Linked DNA regions of Homo sapiens: regions 1 and 2 are each linked to region 3. Evidence: promoter capture Hi-C in 16 types of primary human blood cells and fetal thymus (Javierre and others, 2016). All regions are on one chromosome and are shown on one strand. Each heading gives the region's core, a stretch centred on a gene start or on the middle of the fragment in contact. The rest is flanking DNA. Distances are from core to core; before and after follow the strand shown. Region 1 overlaps LOC128966623 (a long non-coding RNA gene). Region 2 holds the start of LOC124901224 (U4 spliceosomal RNA). Region 3 holds the start of COL23A1 (collagen type XXIII alpha 1 chain).

The links. Contacts are between HindIII fragments. The CHiCAGO score rates a contact against its expected background, and 5 or more counts as called.
Region 1: a contact is called between a fragment that was not itself captured here and the fragment with the promoter of COL23A1 in region 3, in 1 of 17 cell types (endothelial precursors). The highest score is 7.1, in endothelial precursors.
Region 2: a fragment that was not itself captured here is called in contact with the fragment with the promoter of COL23A1 in region 3 in 6 of 17 cell types (megakaryocytes, endothelial precursors, M2 macrophages and 3 more); the score reaches 14.8 in megakaryocytes.

What each region holds. Positions count from the first base shown.
Region 1 is chr5:179,539,201-179,542,554 of GRCh38, forward strand. All of the region lies in intron 4 of LOC128966623 (a long non-coding RNA gene), which reads left to right. It overlaps LOC105377762 (a long non-coding RNA gene), which reads right to left. Exons shown (of 4, transcript XR_941315.4): 2 at 1,475-1,632. Among named protein-coding and RNA genes, the nearest start is that of RUFY1, 9.7 kb to the right of the region's middle. The HindIII fragment of the contact is 664 bases long and covers 991-1,654 here.
Region 2 is chr5:179,489,593-179,492,971 of GRCh38, forward strand. It overlaps LOC124901224 (U4 spliceosomal RNA), which reads right to left and starts at 2,565; the gene lies at 2,423-2,565. The HindIII fragment of the contact is 5,384 bases long and covers 1-3,379 here.
Region 3 is chr5:178,588,424-178,591,976 of GRCh38, forward strand. It overlaps COL23A1 (collagen type XXIII alpha 1 chain), which reads right to left and starts at 1,970. Exons shown (of 29, transcript NM_173465.4): 1 at 1,481-1,970. The coding sequence starts at 1,774. RefSeq lists an enhancer at 416-1,316 and a silencer at 1,972-2,171. The HindIII fragment of the contact is 4,652 bases long and covers 1-3,333 here.

The DNA of each region.
Region 1 (3,354 bases), core at 73-2,572, 950 kb after region 3:
AGAAACAAATACTTAATGATCTCACATGTGGAATCTAAAACCTCAAACTTATAGAAAGACAGAGTAGAATGGCGGTTATCAGGGGAGGGCTGGGGAATGGGGGTAGGAAATGGGGAGATGATGATGAAAGGAACGGAGTTTCTGGAGAACTAATGTACATATAGCATGGTGACTATATGTAATAGTGTATTGTACACTTGAAAAGTGCTAAGAGAGGCCAGGCGTCGTGGCTCACACCTGTAATCCCAGCACTTTGGGAGGCCAAGGTCGGCAGATCGCTTGAGGTCAGGAGTTCGAGGCCAGCCTGGGCAACACGGTGAAACCCCATCTCTACTAAAAATACAAAAATTAGCCGGGTGTGGTGGTGCACACCTGTAGTCCTAGCTACTCAGGAGGCTGAGGCAGGAGAATCACTTGAACCCAGGAGGTGAAGGTTGCAGTGAGTCAAGATCGCACCACTGCACTCCAGTGTATGCAATAGAGCGAGACTCCATCTCAAAAACAACAAAAAAAGAAAATTGCTGGCCGGGTGCAGTGGCTCACACCTGTAATCCCAGCGCTTTGGGAGGCTGAGGCAGGCAGATCATGTGAGGTCAGGAGTTCAAGACCAGCCTGGCCAACATGGCGAAACCCCGTCTCTACTTATAATACAAAAATCAGCCAGGCATGTTGGCGGGCGCCTGTAATCCCAGCTACTCAGGAGGCTGAGGCAGGAGAATCGCTGGAACCCGAGGGGCAGAGGCTGCAGTGAGCCAAGATTGTGCCACTGCACTCCAGCCTGGGTGACAGAGCAAGACTCTGTCTCAAAAAAAAAAAAAAAAAGAAAAAAAGAAAAGAAATTGCTAAGAGAGTAGACTGCAAATGTTCTCACCACAAAACAATGAAAAGTATGTGAGGTGATGAATATGCTAGTTAGCTTGATTTAATCATACATATACCAAAACATCACATCATATAGCATAAATATATATAATCTTTATATGTCTGTTAAGCTTTAATAAAGCTGAAAAATAACAAAAAGAGATGTATCTCTATAAAACAGGGTTTTTTTTGTTTTTGTTTTTGTTTGAGACAGAGTATCAGTCTGTTGCCCAGGCTGGAGTGCAATGGCTCAGTCTCGGCTCACTGCAACCTCCGCCTCCCGCATTCAAACAATTCTCCTACCTCACCCTCCCAAGTAGCTGGGACTACAGGCACGTGCCACCACACTCGGCAAGTTTTTGTATTTTTAGTAGAGACGGGGTTTCACTATGTTGGCCAATCTGGTCTCGAACTCCTGACCTCGTGATCTCCCCACCTTGGCCTCCCAAAGTGCTGGGATTACAAACGTGAGCCACCGCGCCTGGCCAAAACAAAGTTTTTCAAGTCCTAACCAATGCATCATCTTAATGCAATAAAATTTGAATATAATTTTTTAAAAAGAAATATATCCTGAAAAGTTTAAAAATAAAAGGTCATGATGTATGTAACTCACCCTCACAAAGTCCAAGGAAAAATGTGCTTATATCCATACAGATCTAGAGAGGGAGCACATGCAGATGATGACACGAATGAAGTAAACGTGAGCTCCAGGTGAATTGGGGTCAAGGGCATACAGTTGTACTTTGTGCCATCTTTATTCTCGTAACTCTTCTGTAGGATTGAAATAACAAAAAGCTTTTTAAACTATTAGGGTCTGGAATTTCCTTTGAAATACACCAAAGAGTAAGAGTAATAGATGAAATTAGGAATGATAAATGGATAGATATGGTAAAAGTGTTATAATCTCTGTTCAATTTTCTTTTTTTTTTTTGAGACAGAGTCTCGCTCTGTTGCCCAGGCTGGAGTGCAGTGGCACAATCTAGACTCGCTGGAACCTCCACCTCCCGGGTTCAAGCGATTTTTGTGCCTCAGCCCCTCTAGTAGCTGGGATTACAGGCATGCGCCACCACGCCCAGCTAATTTTTGTATTTTTAGTAGAGATGGGGTTTCACCATGTTGGCCAGGCTGGTCTCAAACTCCTGACTTGAAGTGATTCACCCATCTTGGCCTCCCAAAGTGCTGAGATTGCAGGCATGAGCCACCGCACCCGGCTTATCTTCAATTTTTTTTTTTTTTTTTTTTTTTTGAGATGGAGTCTCACTCTGTCGCCCAGGCTGGAGTGCAATGGTGCGATCTCAGCTCACTGCAACCTCCACCTTCCAGGTTCAAGCGATTCTCCTACCTCAGCCTCCTGAGTAGCTGGGATTACAGGCACGCGCCACCAGGCCCAGCTAATTTTTGTATTTTTAGTAGAGACGGGGTTTCACCATGTTGGTCAGGCTGGTCTTGAACTCCTGACCTCGTAATCTGCCCGCCTCGGCTCCCAAAGTACTGGGATTACAGGCGTGAGCCACCTCGCCCAGCCTCAGATTTGTTTATAATAAAATGGTGTGGGGCAGAGAGGAGAACAAGACAAATCAATATGACGTGTCATGGAAAAATGTCACCAAATCAGGAAGTCTTTTGTTGTAGAAGCCACTGGAAGGGGCGTAAAGCCCACCTTTCTTTTCATACTGTCTCCCGGTATTTCCTCTGAAAGCAGGAGTTCAGCTGCACTTGAGATTCTTACTACCCTGTGGCTGGTATGAGGTGCCAAACAGGGAAAGGATTGGTCACTTCACCAACGTAATGACAGCTCTCTCTTAGAGACACATTACACAAATCCTCAGGTTAACTTTTTTGCAAGTCCTTTAATAAATACAAGATTATTTTCATAAAATAACTGCCATGTTCTGATTTATCCTAGCAATAGCACCTACACCCCATTTAGTTACAACCACCACAAAAAGCTCTGATGTTCCAAACTCAAGATAGACAGGGTCCTCTTTATCTGAAGATACTTTCCCCAAGTCCCTGCAGCTACAAGACCATTTGGAGAAGCAAAGGTATTCGTAATGATAACATATTCACTAATGAATTAACCACTTAAAAACTGATCCCTATTCAAAATTTACTCCCTGCTGAACCCCAAAGCATCGATCCCCATGTCCCATACCAATGGCCAGCCAGCCTCTCACTCGTTCTCAGATGTCTAGGATGCCAGTCATTTGGACGGTTAAATTGTGAATCTTACACACAATGCAAGATTTCACAGAATCAACAAGTGACATTAAAGCCCCACTCGAGTGGCATACAAAGCCACCGACAGGCGAGGTCAGCAGAGTTATGGACCAATCAACAAGTGAACAGAAGGAAATTAACGCTGATGACTCACCAGGAGCTTCAAAATAGAATGGTTTGAAAAAAGCAATAAATTTAAAATGAATTAAAGTGAAGAGTGAGCTTAGGCTCAAAATATAAAGGGAACAGCAATATCATAAAATGGCTTTTTCT
Region 2 (3,379 bases), core at 302-2,801, 900 kb after region 3:
AATGGCGTGAACCCAGGAGGCAGAGCTTGCAGTGAGCCGAGATTGCACCACTGCACTCCAGCCTGGGCAACAGAGAGAGACTCCGTCTCAAAATAAATTAATTAAATAAAGCGGGAGGCTGAGACAGTCACTTGAGGCTAGGAGTTCAAGACCAGCCTGGCCAACATGGCAAAACCCCTTATCTACTAAAAATACAAGAATTAGCCTGGCATGGTGGCGCACCTGTAATCCCAGCTACTTGGGAGGCTGAGGCAGGAGAATCACTTGAAGCCAGGAGGCGGAGGTTGCAGTGATCTGAGATCACCCCACTGCACTCTAGCTTGGATGACAAAGCAAGACTCCATCTCAAAAAAAAAAAAAAAGTAAAGTGGAATTTTAGAAATCTAGGCACATTGCAGCAAAATTTTGGAATACCAAGGAAAAAAGGAAAATCCTCATAGTTTTCTGACCGAGAGAATAGGTTGTCACAATAGAATGAAAGTCAGCTTGACATCAAGACTTATCATCAATCCCGAATCCTAAAAGATAGTAGAGCAATTTCTCTAACATTCCAAAGAAAAAACTATTCGTAATCTAGGATCCAAGACCCAGCCAATCTAGCCTTAAATTGGGGGTGCAAAATAAAGACATTTTCATGCATATATGGGTTCATCCCACCTATAAACTCCCCCCAAAGAATCTAAGAAAATAAAAGAGATCAACTACAGTAAGTGCTGGAGGGAGAAATAAAGACAGAGATGATGCACTAAACTGGTCTTAAAAATATGAAACTAAAGTCTCCAATGAGCTCAGTGTGGTAGGGAATTGGTCCCAGGCGGGCAGGAGCAGCGGCGAGAGAACGGCGATTAAATTCACATTCCCAGTGCGGGCAGGACTGTCCCAAAGCAAGAACAGAGCTTTCTGCAAATGATCCGGTCAGACCTGTCTCACTTCTGAAAACAACCTCATTGGGATTTCTAATAAACTGGACTGATTCACTAAATAATTGGACTAGCAAACCAAACCAGTTTTACCTTTTTTTTTTTTTTTTGAGACAGAATCTCGCTCTGTCGCCCAGGCTGGAGTGTAGTGGCATGATCTCAGCTCACTGCAAGCTCCGCCTCCCGGGTTCACGCCATTCTCCTGCCTCAGCCTCCCGAGTAGCTGGGTCTACAGGTGCCCGCCACCACGCCTGGCTAATTTTTTGTATTTTTAGTAGAGACAGGGCTTCACCGTGTTAGCCAGGATGGTCTCCATCTCCTGACCTTGTGATCTGCCCACCTCGGCCTCCCAAAGTGCTGGAATTACAGGCGTCAGCCACAAAGCTCTTTCTCTTAACTTACATTGTCAGGAAACTGGTAACATAGATTGAATGACCCGCCCCAGTTTTTCACCCACACTCACACCCTCGCCATAGCCTCCCTTTCCCACCCCTTGACTTTGGGCTTGGCCAAAGGGATGCCAGCAGGCATGACACAGCAAAACTGGAAATGTGTTTGTGGGGTTAGATGTGCCGTCTCTCAGGGCCCTGCCATCAGCCAGAGACGAAACTGCCCCTGCTGGTCCCAGGAAGAGGATGAGAGGCATGTGGAGCAGAGCTGCCCAGCCAACCCACAAACTCATGAGTAAGAAATAAATGATTATTACTGTTTGCCACTGAGATGTGGGGATGGTTTGTTACACAGCATAAGTGTGACAATAGCTAACTGATACTCAGAGGGCAAGTGCCACTGCAGCAAACATGAGGAGGAATTCCTGAGCCTTTATATTAAAGTGGCTGCTCTCACTAGAGACACGATTGGACTCTGGCTGGTGCGATGACTCACACCTGCAGTCCCAACACTTGGGAGGCCAAGAGCAGAGGATTGCTTGAGCCCAGGAGTTTGAAAGCAGGCTGGGCAATGGATCAAGACTCCATCTCTACAACAACAACAACAAAAACACAGTGTTTTGAACTGAAGGAGCCATACAAAGGATGTCATACAGATTTATTAAATTCAAAACCAGGCTGGGCACGGTGGCTCACACCTGTAATCCCAGCACTTTGGGAGGCAGAGGTGGGCGGATTACCCGAGGTCAGAAGTTCAAGACCAGCCTGGTCAACATGGTGAAACCCCGTCTCTACTAAAAATACAAAAATTAGTCAGGCGTGGTGGTGCACGCCTCTAATCCCAGCTACTTGGGAGGCTGAGGCAGGAGAATTGATTGAACCTAGGAGGTGGAAGTTGCAGTGAGTCAGGATTGCGCCACTGCACTCGAGCCTGGGCGACAAGAGCGAAAGTCAGTTAAAAAAAAATCCAGAAAAACTACTTTTCTGGAATGCAAATCAGAATAGTGGCTGCTTGGGGATTAGGGGACAAGGGAAGTTGAGTAGACTGTAAAGGGATTGGGGGGAATTTTCTACAATGGTGGCAATGTTTTCTGCCTTGATTGGGGTGTTGGCTACAGATAGATATTTGTAAAAAGCCATTGAATTATATATTTAAGATCTGTGTGTTTTACTAAACTATTCCTCAATTTTTCAATTAGCAATAATCACGCCTCGGATAAACCTCATTGGCTATGATACTGCCACTGCACAAAGCTATTCCTCAATTTTTAAAAACATGTCTGTATGGAGTGGATACCCAGACCAGGGTGAGGCTGAGGTGCAAACAGGCCTACCTGAGGTGCCGGGCAGCCTTCCAAGACTCCAAGACTAGGTGGGCTCTGGGCAGACAAAGCCTCCCTCTCACAAAAGGTCTGGGAACCCTTTTCAGGGGGCTCAGAGTCCGGCCACATCTCTAGGTTTTCTGACGTCCTAGACACACCATGAGAAAGAACTTTGACTGGGCTCTCAATCTGGTTGGTGACCTAGGATATGGGGCTCATACCCAGGACCAAGAACCCAGGGCTTCTATCCAGAGCCTAGGACTTGGGGCTTATACCCACGGCCTAAAACCTGGGGCATATACCCAGGGCCTAGGACACAGGTTTATGCCCAGGGCCTAGGACACAAGGCTAATACCTAGAAAGAACACAGAACTTACACCCAGGGCCTGGAACTCGGGGCTTATAACCAGGGCCTAGGACATGGGGCTTATACCCAGAGACTAGGACACAAGGCTTATAACCAGAAAGGACACAGAACTTATATTCAGGGCCTAGAACCCGGGGCTTATACCCAGGGATTAGGACATGGGGCTTATACCCAGAGCCTAGGACACAAGGCTTATACCCAGAAAGGACGTGGGGCTTATACTCAGAGCCTAGGACACAAGGTTTATACCCAGAGCCTAGGACATGGGGCTTATACTCAAAGCCTAGGACATGGGGCTTATACCCAGAGCCTAGGAAACACAAGGCTTATATGCAGAAAGGACACAGGGCTTATACCCGGAGCCTAGGACATGGGGTTTAA
Region 3 (3,553 bases), core at 720-3,219:
CTATGAGAAAGAGCAGCCACACTTATAGCGCTAACAGGTAGAAACTTTACTGGCCCTCTATAAATCAATTCAACACCCTGGTCTCCAGGCATTTGCCAAAAGCTAATGGGCGGCAATTATGAAACCATCGCCAGGAGTTTCCAGCAGGGCTGAGAGAGAGTTTTAAGTCTGCAGGCCCTTTCAAGGGTAAAATAGGAAATCATTTCATGAAGCAGCAATTTTACCCAGAACCCAGCTAGAAGAGATGTGATCCTAGCTTAAATTAAAGTGACTAAGAAACAGGTGGGGTGAACAAGGAGGTGTGGTACGCAAGTCATCTTCTCCCACTTTCCTTTGGAATCCAAAGGAACTCAACATTGGAAACACAGCTGGATACGTTAATAAAGATCCCAGCTGGGCAGTCTAGGGAATTGGGGGTGTACAGGCCAGTGCTCCCTCTCCTCCACCTTGAAACCCTGCCTGTTTTCACACAGCAATTGAGGATGCGCCCTTGGACAGCGACCTTGGGGTCTGGAGCAGCCATCTATCCCAGGAGAAGGAGGAAGGCTCGGCAGGGGAGGCTCTGGCCAGCCCACCAGGGCCTGTCCAGTTTCGTGGGGAGGGGAACTGCCGCACATGCCGCACACAAAAGGCGGAGGCTTTGACCAACATGCTGGGTGAGGGCTTGGAGGACCCAAAGGTGGCTCTTTCTTTGAAGACACACAGCAGCAATCTTAACCCTTAGAAGTGTCACAGAGCCTCATATGAGCTTTCAAGTAAGCTGTGGAAGTCGCGATTCCCAGGTAAGGGACGGGAAACTCCGGATGTCCTGCGAGCCCACACCCCAGATGGCACCGCCTGAAACCAGAATCCAGGTCCTCCACCCCCGATTGTTTCTCCTTCCTCTCATCTTACCAAGTCATGTGGGCGCCCCCACCCCCATCCCCGAGGCCTCAGTGCGACGGTGACCGCTCAGTCTTGGGGCCTGAGCTGCTGGAGACACACTGGAGCACAGCGGGGCCCAGCCCTCGGGCCTGTCTGAGGCTTTCCTCCGCCGTGACCACCGCCTCTCCAGGTGTACCAGCGTTGGTTAGGAACAGTAGGTGCTACTGGTCACAGTCACCAGATACTTCCCACGAGCCTCATCTTTATCCCCGACTCTGGCCGCCGGCGGGAAGCGGCGTGTCCGAGCGCACACCCCGTGGAGACTGACCCTAGGTCTGTTACTCCAAAGTCCCTGGTCTCTCCTTCCCCTTTCTCGCGGCCGCCTGCCTGGCACGGGACCCTGAGGCCGGAGCGGAGACCGCAAAACCCCTTGGGGCCGGCACCCCCTGCCTCCGCCTTGGCGCAGACGTGCCCATCTCTGGGACGGCCCCGAGCGCACGCAGCCGGCGGGCGACCCTCCTCCCAGAGACCTGCACGCTGCCCCCGGCTCCCAGCGTACCGCCACCCTCAACCCGACACACCCAAGTCCGCCCCAGCCACGCGCCAAGACGCTCACCTCCCGCAGCAGGCGCTCCAGGTGCGGCTCGGCCCAGGCGTCCAGGGCGCCTGGCGGCCCCGCGCGCCGCAGCAGCTCCCGCTCCTCCTCGAGCGCCGCCACCCGGCCCTGCAGCGCGGCCGCCTGGACACCCAGCAGCAGGCAGGCAGCCGCCGAGCCCACGGAGAGCAGCAGGCACAGCGCGCTCACCGCCCGGGACCCGGCCGTCGTCGCCGAGCGCCCTCCGCCGCCGCCGCCCGCCGCATTGCCCTTCCCCGCGTCGCCGCCGCCACCGGCGCGCTCGCCTGGGCCCATGGCGCGTTCGTCGCGCGTGGACTCTCCGAGGGGGCGGTGCTGCTGGGGCAGAGGCTGGGTGCGAGAGGAGCAGGCGGGACAGCCCGAGGCACGAGGTCCGCCGGGCGCGGGGGTTAGCCTCCGGGTAGCAGCGGATCGCCGCGCACGCCCCCTTCGCCGCAGCCAGCTCCTCCACAGCGGCCACTTTGGGCAGTTTCCTCTATGCAAATAGACCCTGCCAGAAAAGGAGCAGGGACCCACCCAGGGGAGGAGCGGCCGGGCTGGCCCCGCGCGGCGAGGGGGCGGGGGCGAGGAAGGAGCGAGCTCCTCGGAGCCACCCGTCGGCGCCGGGCTGATCCCACGCGCAGCGCGCACCTCTGCCCTCACCTAGCCCGGGCGCCGGCACCCGCCCCCGCACGCACCTCTGAGGCTTCCCCAGCCCAAGCCCGCACTGTGGACCCCAGAGGTCGGAGGGGAGCCCGGCGACACCGCGCCCCTTCTGCAGCCCACCCCTGGCTGGAGCACCCACCACTCGTGCCTTAGCACATTCCTCTAAACTTGTGAATTACCTTTCTGACACTTGTAAAAGTTCAAAACTTCAAATCCTGCAAAAAACTGAGTGGGTCTGTCCTCGGTGGTGGATTAGCGCCGCTTCGTGGCGGAAAGCGACCTCTGCGCACTCACATTTAGAGAGGCAGGGTCGAGATTGCGCCAAACAGAAATACGCCCCTTAGAATCTTCTCACGAGTTCTTAGCTGCCGGACTTCGGTGCGGGAAACAAAAATGGTAAGACTGTTTCTGGCCTGGAGAGGGCTTTTGAGAAAACTGAGACTATAACGAATGGGAAAGATTCAGAAAATGAACTTCAAGTCTTGTTCAACTGATGACTTAATTCTGTATTAGACGCACAACTTGGCCAAAAATTATGATCTAGTATGCACCACACTTAACCTGTACTGCGATTCTGCTGCAAATTTAAATCACAGGGCTGAGGCAAGAAGGCTGTGGCGTACAGCCTGGGTCCAGAGAACAGAATGAGTGGCACTAACAAGTCTTGGCAGGAAAGGGAAGAACTGCTGGAAGTCAGGCTGGGTTCAGATTCCTACCAGGCATATTCATGTCCTAAATGGGTCCCAAGTAACTCTTTCGCTAACTCCTGTAATACCTAAATGAAACAACAAACCAGCAGTTCAGATCTTTGTGATTTGAGTAACCCCCCAACCATTTTTTTTTAAGAAAAATAACGTTATATCCATCTTCCCTCTCACTCTGGATATCTTCTGGTTGTCTCATTTCTGTGGATACTCACCTTTTAGAACTGTTGAGTGCCTCTGGCTAACATGTTCCATCTCCTTCCCTTAATTCAGAGGGGAACCCCTGAGATGGCCGGGGGTTATGGTTGATAGACTTGGCTCTGTGCTAAAGTCTGGTGTATGCCCAATAGAATGAAAAGTTGGCCTCATTCTGAAAAGAGGCCAACACCCTCTTACAAGTCAGCACTACATTTCTTACAGGCACATAAACTGCACACCACCTACCTATGTTAATGTTACTGCATGTATTGTTTGCCATGTTCCTGAAGCTTCTGTGTATTGAAAAAGCCAAGCTCACTGGCCCCTGGGCCTCTGCCCTTGCCTACCACCTCACTACCTGCATTCCTGCTCTCAGATCGTTAAACGGCAAGCCCCTCCTCATCCTCCAGGTCAAGGTCCTCAACCTCACTGCTTCTAAAAGATCTTCCCAGACTGCCCAATTTAAGGTGGCCCACAAGATTAATCAGGGAATTGGGGCGGCTGAATT